Regions from separate parts of the Homo sapiens genome. Here region 1 is linked to region 2. Evidence: promoter capture Hi-C in 16 types of primary human blood cells and fetal thymus (Javierre and others, 2016). All regions are on one chromosome and are shown on one strand. The core of a region is centred on a gene start or on the middle of the fragment in contact, and the rest is flanking DNA. Distances in the headings are between cores, read along the strand shown.

Region 1 (5,750 bases), core at 2,727-5,226, 550 kb after region 2:
CTGGGCAGTGTCCAGCAGCTGCAGCCAGGCCTGGCCCAGAGGCTGGGCAGAGGGGCTGCCGGCTGCAGATGGCAGGTCCTGGGGGATGCTTTCCACAAGGACAAGCCTGTGGGGAGAGCCACACTGGGCTCAGTATGGGTGCGGGAGCCCCCAGCCCACCTCACATCACCTGCCCCATCCCACTGCCAAGCCAGAGCAACCGTTGCTCAGGTGGCCCCCGGGATGAGCCCAGGCCAAGTGTGCAGGGTAAGGGTTTAAGGTATAGGCAACAAAACAGACTGGGCAGGGTGGGCCTGAGCCCAGCATGCTGCTGGGGTGGTGACACCCAGGAGCAATTTGGGAAGGAGCCTGAGAGGGGCTGCCTGGTCCAGAGCAGGCTAGACTGGGGGGTCCTGGCCCCACTCAGCCCTGAGGCACTGCCCACAGGGAGCAGCTGCTCCTGAAGCCGGGCAGAGTAGAGCAGAGCTGTGGAGTCTGGGGTCTGGGGTGGCCTCGTGGTGTGGAAGCCCTTGGTGGTGGCCAGAGCTGGCCTGGAAGGGAAAGGTTGGGCCAGGGGCAGGTAAGCTCCCGTTTCCAGGGGATGTGTGCAGGATGGCCCAACAGGTTCCTCCGGGGCAGTCCTGGGATTCCAGGACCCCAACCGCAGGGAAAGAAGGGTGGGAGGGAAGGATGAGGGGCGGCAGGGGACAGTGACATTACCCCCAGGGGTGGAAGGACTGAGGGGGTGAGCCTCAGCACAGGCAGTGTTCTCCAGCCTGTCAGAGCCCCCAGGTGGCAGCCTCTGTTTGCTGCAAAAAGCACCACACGCCTGCCCCGTCCCCAGCCCCCACTCCAGCTCATATGGTCGTGGCCCTCCCTGGTGACCTGCACCTTCCTGGAGGAGCTGGTAGAGGGCCCCCCTTATCTCACGGGCAGATCCAAGGGCAGAAACACAGGCAGCAGCCCCAAACTGAGACCTGCCCCCGCAGGCCTCCATGGGCTCACTTACTGGCAGGAGTCCCTCTGCTGCCTGGCCTCTGCTTCCAGGGGCTCCCAAGCTGGGCTGGAGCCATGCTCCCAGGACCTGGGCACGTCCTTGGGCTGCACCTGGCCCCAGGTGGGAGGACGGGGCACTTGCCACAGGAGGCAGATAAGAGCCACGGAGCCCAGCCACAGCACAGCCAGCGCTCCCAGGACCTGCAACTGGATGGGGCAGCACCCGCAGGGTCACCAGACAGGGCGGGGCTTGACTTCTGGCTGGGCCACGATGGCCCCTCCAGTGCTGAGACAGAGACCGTCTTGACTTCCCGGACCTGGGCTGCCACTGGGGTGGGACTAGGGTGGACAAGGGAGAGGGGAGGGTGATACAGAGAAGGCCCCCAGCCCAGGGTGGTGGCAGGGGTCAGGGGGCCTGCAGCCCACTCTGCAATGCTGTGGCTCGTGGTAACTGGCTGTCCCCAGCACCTCCAGCAGGGGCATAAAGGGAAGGTCTGGAGCAGCCCAGGGAGGCTTCCCTTGCCCACCAGTCAGGGCACCTCTGCTTGGAGGCCCCCTCAAGGCTGCTTGTGACCTCTCCACTCTGGCTCGGAGCTCTTGAAAGGCCATTGATCCCAGCCACCTCCCCCCTGGGGCCCCCCAGTCCTACCGTGCCAGCCTCTCTGTCCCACGGGCGGCGGGGCGGCATGGAGCATGGCCATGTGGGGGCCACTGCTGCTTTCCAAAGAGGCTTCAGCATCTGCACAGGGCAGCCTGGCATCACCAGCAGCTCCAGCTCTGCCCAGAACTGCCCCTCAGTGCCTGGGCAGCTGGGCACTGGGGACACCCCTGCACAGACACCCACATAAGCCCCCAAAAGCCCCCCACTCATGCCCGAGGTCACGCCCTGGATGTTGGGGGTGTGCTTTCCACGAGGACAAGCCGTGTGGGTGTTGGAGCCCGCAGCCGGCCACATGTCACCTGTCCTGTCCCCCTGGCCAAGCCGGAAGGACTGCTGTTAAGGCGGTCCCCAGGGCTGAGCCTGGGCCAAGCACGAGGGGCGGGCGGGCGTCTGTGCCTAGCCACATGCCCCGGCTTTCTGTGTCTCCCCTTTCAGGGTCTCCCACTCAGTGAGTATCTAGGTATTTGCATCTCAGTTCCCTGTTTCAACCACAACTGAAACTGCGTCTGAAAGGGCTGTTTCTGCTTTTGTCGCTTGGTCCTCTTATTGCTGGCCTATAAATAACTGCTTCCCTCCTGGGCTGGGCTCCTGTCTTGGCCCCACGGCAGCCCCTCCAGAGAGCCACAGGTCAGAGGGGGCAGCTGAGCAGTACCCTTGCTGGAGAGGCTAGGCGTGGAGAGGGCAGAGATGGCGGCAGAGTGGGACCCCTACTGCTGGCAGAGGGGGTTGTCCTCTGCTGCAGGGACTCGCCTTATCTCCTCAGAGTGGTCACCCCACAAGGAGCTGGGAGCCAGGCCATCTGGGCCCTGTGGGATGTGGGCTCCCATCCCCACTCCTACCCCCAAAGCAAGCAGTCAGGCTGCCCCAGGTGCCACCATGGGGGAAGGGTGCCTCACAAGTACAGAGGCGCCCTCCCCGGGTGCAGGGAGGGGTCTGTGCCCAGCATGGTCACCTGGCTGGCCAGCCTCTGACTGAGACATCCACCAGGGCAGGAGCTGGCTGGCCCCTGGCTGGGATGGGGATGTCTCCGAGGTTTGGGGCCTGGGCCTGGGCAGTGCTGAGTGCCAGTGTCTGCAGCCAGGCTGGGCGCTGGGACCCAGGGCTCGGTGGGTCGGCTGTCCACCCAGGAGCAGCCAGCTCAGCCTCCAGGCCTCTGGGGTTCGTCTGGGCTGTCCTCCCACGGGTCAGGGCTGAGGGCTTTGAGAACCTGGCCTGCCTCAGCATGGGGCGGAAATGCCAGGAACACCACAGGAGTCGGGCCTGGACTGAGTCTGCCCTGGAGACCAAGCGTTATGGGGGATTGGGGGTAGGAGCATAAACCAAGTGTGGGGACAGGGGACTCAGGCCAAGTCACTGCGGCCCAACTCCCCCCACGCTGGGGGGTCCTGCAGAGGTGGGTGGGTGCCGCCCCCACCCCAGAGCTGAACTCTGGGGGATGCTCCCCCCACCCCACAGAGGAGACCTCAGGGTGCCCACCGTGTCCCCACTGTCCCCAGGGATTCAGGGCCCAGCATCGGGCCTTTGCTCTCCCCCACTAACTCTCAGAAGAGGAAACATGGAATCCTGGGCTGTGGCTGGTCAATGAGAGGAAACATGGAATCCTGGGCTGTGGCTGGGCAACGAGGTGCCAGGGCTGTTCTTGGACAGCTGCTCCCCACACTCCCTGCCCTCACCAGAGAGGACCTTTGCTCCCTTAAATGCTCCAGGCAGACGGGCAGCTCAGAGCACAGAGGCGCTGCCTCTTGCAGGCCCCATCTCAGACTTGGAGCCTGTCCAAGTCCCCTCCCAGGACTACAGACCCCAGAGCGCCTCACCACCTCCTCCTGCAATGGAACCTGGGAGGACCGCCAGCCAGGTTGGCTCAAGCTGAGAGACCCCTGCAGAGTAGGGCTGTAGCCCCCTGGTCCCATGGTAGATAGCGTAAGACCCTGCAGACATCAGAGGTCATGGCTGAAGGTGCCAGATTTCCTGCCCTGCAGGGCATTAGGCATGGCTGCCAGTCCCAGGCTGAGGTAGAGGGCCCAGCTGTCACCTGGCTGGAGAGCCAGGGCCCAGCTTATCCCAGCTGCACGGACTGGGGACGGAGCGAGTCATCTACAGGACTAGCTGGAGGCTGTGTGACTCTCTGGACCTGGGGTTGCTGGGAGGCTGAGGCCATAGGGAGGCAGACAGCAGCCCTTTCCCCATGCCTGGCTTTTCTCAGCTGCCCTGGCCTCATTGGCACATACCTCTGGGGGTCCTGCCTTGGTGTCTATCCTGATTCCAGCCGCAGACTGCAGGCCCTCAGCTCACGGGGCAGGCTCGGTGCTGCCTGTGCTCCACACCAACCTCCTCTTCTCTGCAGCTCACCTCCTCCTCTCTGCAGCTGGCTCCTTCCCCTTCCAGCTACTTCCTCTTTGTCCTGAGAGGCCCCCTCTCATCTGAGACAGAAACAGACGGCTGGAGCTGGGTGGGCGGGCTAGAGGGTAGGGCTGAGAACCTTCACCTCCAGGAAAAATCTACACCCCACTCCCTCGAGGTAGAGGCCCTCCAGTTGCGGGCCTACGAATCGGAGTCAAGTTCAGCTGCAGGCCACAGACACCTAAGGAACAGTGGCTTCAGCAAGGTTGTTCATTACTCTCGAACACTAAGCAGGTCCAGGGGCTGGCAGGCTAGAGACGGCCTTGCTAGAGATGATGGCATTGCTCCACTGCCATTGGGAGCCAGGCTCTCAGATCCCAGTCCCTAGGATCCCTGCCTTCATGGCCTCACAGTGGCTGCTGGAACTCAGCCATTGCCTCTGTGTTCTTAGCAGAGAATAAGGGACATCCCAGAGGAGACTTCCTGGAAGTCCCACAGGGCACTTCCACTTATCTGTGATCTGGAACTTGATCTAGAACTTAGTCACATGGCTACACTTAGCTGCAAGGGAGGCTGAGCAATGGAGGTAACTAGGGTCTTTATCTTGGAGAACGAAGCTGGGGCTGCTCACTGGCATATCTGAAAAGGTGGGCCTGGCTAGAAGCTCCTAGCAAGGGGCTCTGCCTCCCACTGCCCCACCCCCCGACTGGGGTCCCTGAGTAAGGTCTGGGACCTTGAGAACACTCCTACTTTCAATGAGGTCTGGGTGTCCACCCTGGCTCCTCCTTGTAAGGCCTATGTAGGGCAGGGGTCCAGGGTGATGGCCTCAGGGTGCCTGCAGGACACCAGTCAGGAGGGTGCAGTTCCCAAGGGTGGGGCCTGTCAGCTGCACCCCTGGGGCCAGTCTGGGTGGGCCAGGAAGTGAATGGGGAAGAGATCCATCCTCTCCCTAGCCCCTCCCAGATCTCTCTTCACCTTCCTGATGCTCTGATTTGGCCTTGGGTTCAGCCCTTACCTCCCGGCCATGGTTGGGGAGCCCCAGCCCTCTGGCTGGGTTGCTGGATGCCTGAATGCAGCTGGGCCCCAGGCATGCCCCCGAGGGTTGGGTCCTCCAGGGACTCTGGGTGAGGGTTACTCTGGGTATGGGGAGGGGCAGCCAGGTGGGTCCTGCTGTGACATTTGCAGGGCTGGGGCATGAGTATGAAGGGAGGCTGCCTTCCCTGCACTCAAGCAAAAGGCAGTTAGACAGAACAGGTTCTCTTCTGTCTTTTTTTTTTTCTTTTTCCTTTGAGAGAAGTCTCGCTCTTGTACCCCAGGTTTGAGTGCAACGGCTTTATCTCGGCTCACTGCAACTTCTGCCTCCCGAGTTCATACGATTCTCCTGCCTCTGTCTCCCAAGTAGCTGGGATTAAGGCACGTGCCACCACGCCCGGCTAATTTTTGTATTTTTTATTAGAGACGGGGTTTCACCATGTTGGCCAGGCTGGTCTCGAACTCCTGAACTCAGATGATCCACCCGCCTCGGCCTCCCAAAGTGCTGGGATTACAGGCGTGAACCACAGCGCCCAGTCTCTTCTGTCTGGACAACAATGGTGTGTGAGGGCCTGGAAGGCCAGGGGCAAGTGGAGGACCCCAGGGCTCCTTGGAGCACTCTCAGAAGTCCTTGCAGGAGGGCCAGCCCCAGCCAGTCCCCTCTCCGATTTCCCCACATTGTGAGGGGCCTCAATGAGCCCACATGCTACACCCAGCCCGTGGGTCTGAGCTCATTGCAGCC
Region 2 (5,666 bases), core at 2,996-5,495:
GCCCGGGCGCGCACTCACCGAAGTACACCTTCTTGCTGCAGCGCGGGCACGTGTTGGGCTCCCCGGTGAAAGTGGTGACACTGGAGGCTGTGGGGCGCACGAGTCAGGGCGGGGCGGGGCCGGGGGTGCCCACAACCCCCAGCCCCAGCCCGCGCGTGCCCACAACCCCCAGCCCCAGCCCGCGCCCAGCCCACCTCTGCTGGGCCCCTTCGGGGGGCCGCTCGCCTTCCGCTCCTCTGCTCGGGCCGCGGGGACCTCGATGGGGCCGGTGACCTGCGGCCCCTCCGCCAGGGGCTTCTCGTAGATGTAGGAGCCCGCGCCCCCGATGTTCACGCCTGCGGGTGGGGGTACGTGGGGCGGGGGTACGTGGGGTGGGGGCCGCGGCCACCGGGCATCTCAGAAAACGGCCCGCTGGGGACTGGGGGGCACTAGGCTTTCCAGGGTGGCAGGGACTCTGGGCGGGGATCCACGGCGGCCGGGACCCCCAGCCCTCCCCAGCGCCAGCGCCACGCCCCTCCCAGCAGGTCCCAGGGCAGGCCGAGGGCAGCCGGAGCTCACCTTTGGGTCCGAACAGGGTGGCGTAGCACGGCTTGTGGCAGAACGGCTTCCCGTCATGCTGCGCAGAGGGGCGCGGGTCAGGACCCTGCCTGAGGGTGGCGGGAGTCGCGACCCCCGCCCCCGCCCGCGCCGCGCAGTGGGGCTCACCTCGGCGTGGCCCCCGGGCGTCAGCGTCTTGCTGCAGCGCTCGCACTTGAGGCAGAACTTGTGCCAGTCCTTCCCCAGGGAGCTCACCTTCTCGGCTGAGCGGGAGGGGCGGCAGGGGGGTCAGGGCCGGGGCGCGCCCCGCACCCCCTCCGCCCCCACCTGGCAGCCACCACCCCCACGCGCTCCGGGGGTCCCCACTTTCAGGAGGTCTCCCAGGCGCCTTCCTTCCACCTGGCGGGCCCTGCCCCTCCTTCTGAGACCCGGAGGAGCCCGTCGCCCCCAGGCCCTGTTCTCCCTCTGGGTCTCAGCGCCCCCAGCCCTGGAACCCCGCTAGAGCCGCCTTTGAGAAGGGGCCCGGGGCTGCCCTGTTAGTCCCCTCAGTGCCTGCGGTGAAGGGGCCTGTGCTCGAGCCTGCCCGCGCTCCAACACCTGCCCGCGCTCCAACACCTGCCCGCGCTCCAACACCTGCCCGCGCTCCAACACCTGCCCGCGCTCCAACACCTGCCTCCCGGACACCCGCCTCACACCCGCCTCCCCCACACGCCCGCCTCCCCCCACAAATCTGCCTCCTCCCACACACCTTCCTCTCACACACACACCCGCCTCCCCCACACGCCCGCCTCCACACACCCGCTTCCCCCCACACACACCCGCTTCCTCAGACACACACCCGCTTCCCCCCACACACCTGCCTCCCCCCACACATATGCATCTCCCCCACCTGTCATTCCCTCAAACACTTCTCTTACACTCACACACCTGCCTCTGCAGTGCACCTGCTTCAACACATGCTGCTCTCCCTCTCACACCTGCCTCGCACTGACACGCCCCTGATCCCCACCAACTGGGCCCTGATGGGGCTGGCAGCACCCCGCTGCTGAGTCAAAGGTGCAGCCCCAGAACCTCCAGCTCCCTCATGGGAAGGCCAGGCCCCGTCCCCGTGGGTCCTCCAGGCGGGACCCTCATCTGTCTGTGGATTCCTCGTCCTAAACCCTGAGCTCTCCCCCCGCCGTAATGCCCCTGGCTGCCACTGGCATGGAAGATCTGAGGGCAGCTGCTGAGGGTCCGGGACCCTCTGCCACTGCCTCCCACCCCCACACTGGGGCTACTGGACTGCTTCCCAGTGGATGGAAGCAGGGGCCTCCCTAGGGAGCCAGGCAGGAAGAGGTGGGGAGGGGCAGGAAGGGCCCAGCAGAGCCGGAATTCTGAAGGGAAGGGGACAAGCTGCAGGCCCTGGGGGGAGGGAGCATGCAGGCTGGGCCCACCCTGCCCGGCAGAATCTGGCCAAGCCCCTCAGGTGGCCGAGGACCAGTGGCTCTCCCAGCTCCCTTTCTCAGCAAGTGGCCCAGCCCCCTTTGTCTGGCAGATATCGGGGAGGGGCATCTGGCTAGGGCGAAGCCCACTCTGAGAGGCCCAAGGGTGCTGCTCCTGGCAGTGAGATGGGATCCCCCAGGTGGCCTACTAGGTAGAGGGCTGTGAATACTGGCTCTCCGTGGCCCTGGTACAACCCTCTGGGCATGGCCAGGGCCAGCCTCCAGGACACCAGCCCAACCACAAGGCTGCACCAGCTTAGAGCCCTCTGACCAGAACCACTCCACTCAAGGAAGCTGGGACACACCAGGGCAGGCAGGGGCTGGCTGCACGGTGGGCAGGCGTGTCCCAGCAGCAGCAAGGAAGTCTCGGTGGCTATCGGCCGTGGCAGCTGCAGCCCAGGGCTGCCAGCACTGTGCTCTGGCCAGCTCTGGGACGTGGGCCAAGTGGGGGCAGGGAACTGGCCCTCAGACCCACTGGGTGGGTCAATGGCCACACATTACGGGTCCGAGTTGGGAACACAGAATCGATTGGGTCTAATGGCTCAGAAGAAAACCAGCTGCCCACCCTGGCTGCATGGGCTCTGGGGTGGCCTCCTCAATGTGCTCCGACATCCCAGCCTGGGTTCTACTCAGGTATGAGCTGCGGGGGCAGCCTGGTGTGAGGGTGGGCAGGATTCTGGACCCTCGCCCTCACAGTGCCTCCCAGGCAGGACAGAAGCCAGCCGGGTCTGAAGCGCCTTTGTTTTCCGCTGAGAGGCTGGGCGGGCCAGGCAGGCAGGCCTTTCCGGGCTGTCCACAGGACTGTTGGCCGAGACCCTGGAGAGCCCCAGGCTGGCCTGGCCCGGCCTGGGGTAAAGTCATGGGCAGTTGGACTGCAGAAGGGCCCTGGGGACCGTCTCCCACCCTAAGCCTTACAGAGACAGCCCTCGCTGGGACAGAGACTGAGGGCTGAGCGGGCTCCAGGAGAGGCAGCCGGAAGCCCCTCGGCTCCCAGCCACGCCAGAAGCACTCCAGGCCAAATCCGGTCCCTCCCCTCTGGGACGGGCAAAATACAACCTCCCCTCAACCCCCTCCAGCCTGTGAGCCGGGGAAGCCCAGTGGCGGCCTTCCCTGCAGCCTGGCCGCATTCTGGGTATGGGGCGACCAGGGCAGGCGCCCTGTTGGTCCCGGCCCTCCTCTCTGCTTCACTAAGTCTGCCCCCCTTCGTGCAGCAGCTGGTGGGTAGGTGGGCAGGGACCTTACCACCCTGGAGAAAGCTGGGCAGCGAATCAGCCAGGAGGAAGGGGGTAGGAAGGGCGCACCCAGGCCCAGAGAGTGAGTAAGCCCAGACGGGGGGAGCGCGCCTGCCGGAGGGGCTAGACCGAGGGCCGCCTTGCGAGACATCCCTCTTCCCGCCACCACCTGCATCCTGTCCAGGGCTGTTCTGACCTTGAGGAGGCAGGGATCCTGGACACCTGGGCTGCTTGAGCACAAGGTCCCTCTCACGTTCGCGGGAACTCGCGTGTCACACCCGCCCCCACCCTACCCCCGTGTGAAACTCCTGGGGGAACTGGCGCCAAGGGAATGCGTCGGGACAAGCAGGAGGCAGAGGCCAAGGTCGCCCCCGCTTGGACTGAATCCCGACAGAGTCCAAACCTGGCCCAGCCCAGCTCAGCGGAGCCCGGAGTGGGAGCTGGGGGTCACTGTTCCCGGCCACTTGTTCCCGGGGGAAGCGGGTGTAGGGGGTCCAGGAGAAAGGGCCCAGGCCCACGGGAGCGCGCGGGACGCACCCGGGGCGTACAGCCACGCCCTGCCCCGCCCCGCCCGGCGCCGTCCGAGGAACCGGGATGCGTCCGCGGATCCCCGAGCGCTCCCCCAAACACTGGCCTCATCCCGGGGCACCACAAGCCCCGCCCGGGTGGTCCCTGCCCCGCCCCCACAAGCCGCTTCGGGGTTCGGGCGTGACCGCCCCCGCTTTCGCGCAGCCCCACCCTTTGGCTTTAGCCGCTTGGGCAGCGCGGCCAGCCAGCCTCCGGGACGCGCATCCTCGGTCCGGGGCCGGGGCCGGGCGCACCCCGAGTTACGCCGCGGCTCTGCGGCGCGGGACTGGCCGCGAAGGGCGGCGGGATGCACCGAGCGGGCCGGGAGCGGGCACGCACTCACCGAAGTACACGGTCTTGTCGCACTTGGGGCATTTGGAGGCCATGGTCGGTGCGCCCGGTCGGCCCGCGCCCTCCGCCCGTTCTCCTCCGGGCCGCCGCCGCCCGCGCCCAGCCCCGCCTGCCCGGCTGTCCGCGCGCCCATTGGCTCCGCGGCCGGGGCGGGGCCTCGATAACCCGTCCCCCGGGCTGGGGGCCGCCTGGGGGCGCCGCGGGGGCGGGGCGCACCTGCCGGGGGTGGCGGGTGCGGGGCAGCCGGGCCAGGCCTGGCGCCCCCGGGCCCCTCGCGCCGGAGGTGGCGTCTACAGGGGCCCGCCCGGGCGACCGCGGCGCCGCCCGCGCCCCGGCTGTTTCCATGGCGACGTCGGGGCCGCCTGGCCGGGCCGTCCCCGGGGCGGCGGGCAGGGTGCGGGGAGCCTGGCCCTCGGCTCTCGGGGAGCCCTAGTGACTTGGGCCTAGGGGTCCAACACTCCCGGCCCTGGGCGCCCAGGCTGCGCTCCGCCGCGGGAAGGGGTCGCAGGCTCCGGGAGAACCCCACCCCCACCCCGCCGCGCGCGGCGCCTGTCCCGCTTCCCTTTGTTGCTCGGTTTCCATAGCAACAGCCGCGCCGCGGGAGCGGAGTCAGATTCCCGGCGGGCACGGCCCCCAGCCCTGTCCGGGTCTCCATGTCCCGCTCCGCCCCCGCCCGCGCCCCGCCCCAACACTGTCTGTGGTGCTGAAGGCTCCTTGGGTGGAGGGCAGGGCTCAGGAAGGAAGGCGCCGCCACCTCCAGAAACAGCTCGAGAAGCTGCTGGTAGGGGGTGTGGGGAGGTCTGCGTCTGCCTCCCAGGCAGGGAAGGGGCGGCGGGCACCAGCGCCGAGGGATCCGCGCTTAAGGCGTCCACCCCAAGCACTTCCACCCAGGGGGCGGCCGGGGAGGCGGTGAGGAGTTAGGAAGGGAAGGAGGGGAAGGAGTGGGCGTGCCCTCTGTGCCCCGGGCTGGGGCTGACACTCCAGTCCCTTCTCCCGCACCGCCCAGGACCAGCTGCGTGCCTGGGGGCCCAGGGCCTGACCTCGAGGGGTCAGGCGGGAGATTGAGGGGTCATGCCAGTCACCGCACCCCCACACCCCCACTCTGGCCTCCTCCCAACCAGGGCGTGCCTGACCACGCCTCACCACAGTGCCTCCGCCCTAGAGCCCCGTAGAGCCTGGCCCCAGGTGGGGAACCTCCGCACCCACGGGCTTCCTGGTGCTCTGTCCCCATGGGCCCTTCTCTGAGCCTTCTGGCCCCAGCTGAGCGTCGGCCTGGGAGACAGGCAGATCCCAGAAGCCCAGTGATCAGGCCCTATGGGGGCAGCTGACTCTGGACACCCTTCCCCCTGTGTCTTGGAGGCTGTGGGCTGGACACGGAGACCTACCTGTTCCCTCTGCCTGGTGCACCAGGCATGTTTGTGAGCCAACCAGAGGCCCTCGGTGCTCCTGGCTTTCATGGTGGTCCTGGCTGGGCTCTCTGTGGCAGCACCCTCCTCCC

What was found. The method cuts DNA at HindIII sites, captures the fragments that hold promoters and counts their contacts. A CHiCAGO score of 5 or more calls a contact.
Region 1: the fragment with the promoter of PLD4 here is called in contact with the fragment with the promoter of CRIP2 in region 2 in 1 of 17 cell types (monocytes); the score reaches 5.1 in monocytes.

What each region holds. Positions count from the first base shown.
Region 1 is chr14:104,923,105-104,928,854 of GRCh38, reverse strand. It overlaps PLD4 (phospholipase D family member 4), which reads right to left and starts at 3,976. Exons shown (of 11, transcript NM_138790.5): 1 at 3,865-3,976; 2 at 1,625-1,714; 3 at 989-1,182; 4 at 1-106. The coding sequence starts at 1,714. RefSeq lists enhancers at 3,142-3,651, 3,634-3,803. The HindIII fragment of the contact is 16,221 bases long and covers 1-5,750 here.
Region 2 is chr14:105,473,400-105,479,065 of GRCh38, reverse strand. CRIP2 (cysteine rich protein 2) reads right to left here and starts at 4,245. Exons shown (of 8, transcript NM_001312.4): 1 at 4,161-4,245; 2 at 706-800; 3 at 559-616; 4 at 195-335; 5 at 19-87. The coding sequence starts at 4,203. RefSeq lists silencers at 4,223-4,332, 4,513-4,582, 4,853-5,002, 5,093-5,182, 5,193-5,242 and an enhancer at 5,271-5,666. The HindIII fragment of the contact is 47,861 bases long and covers 1-5,666 here.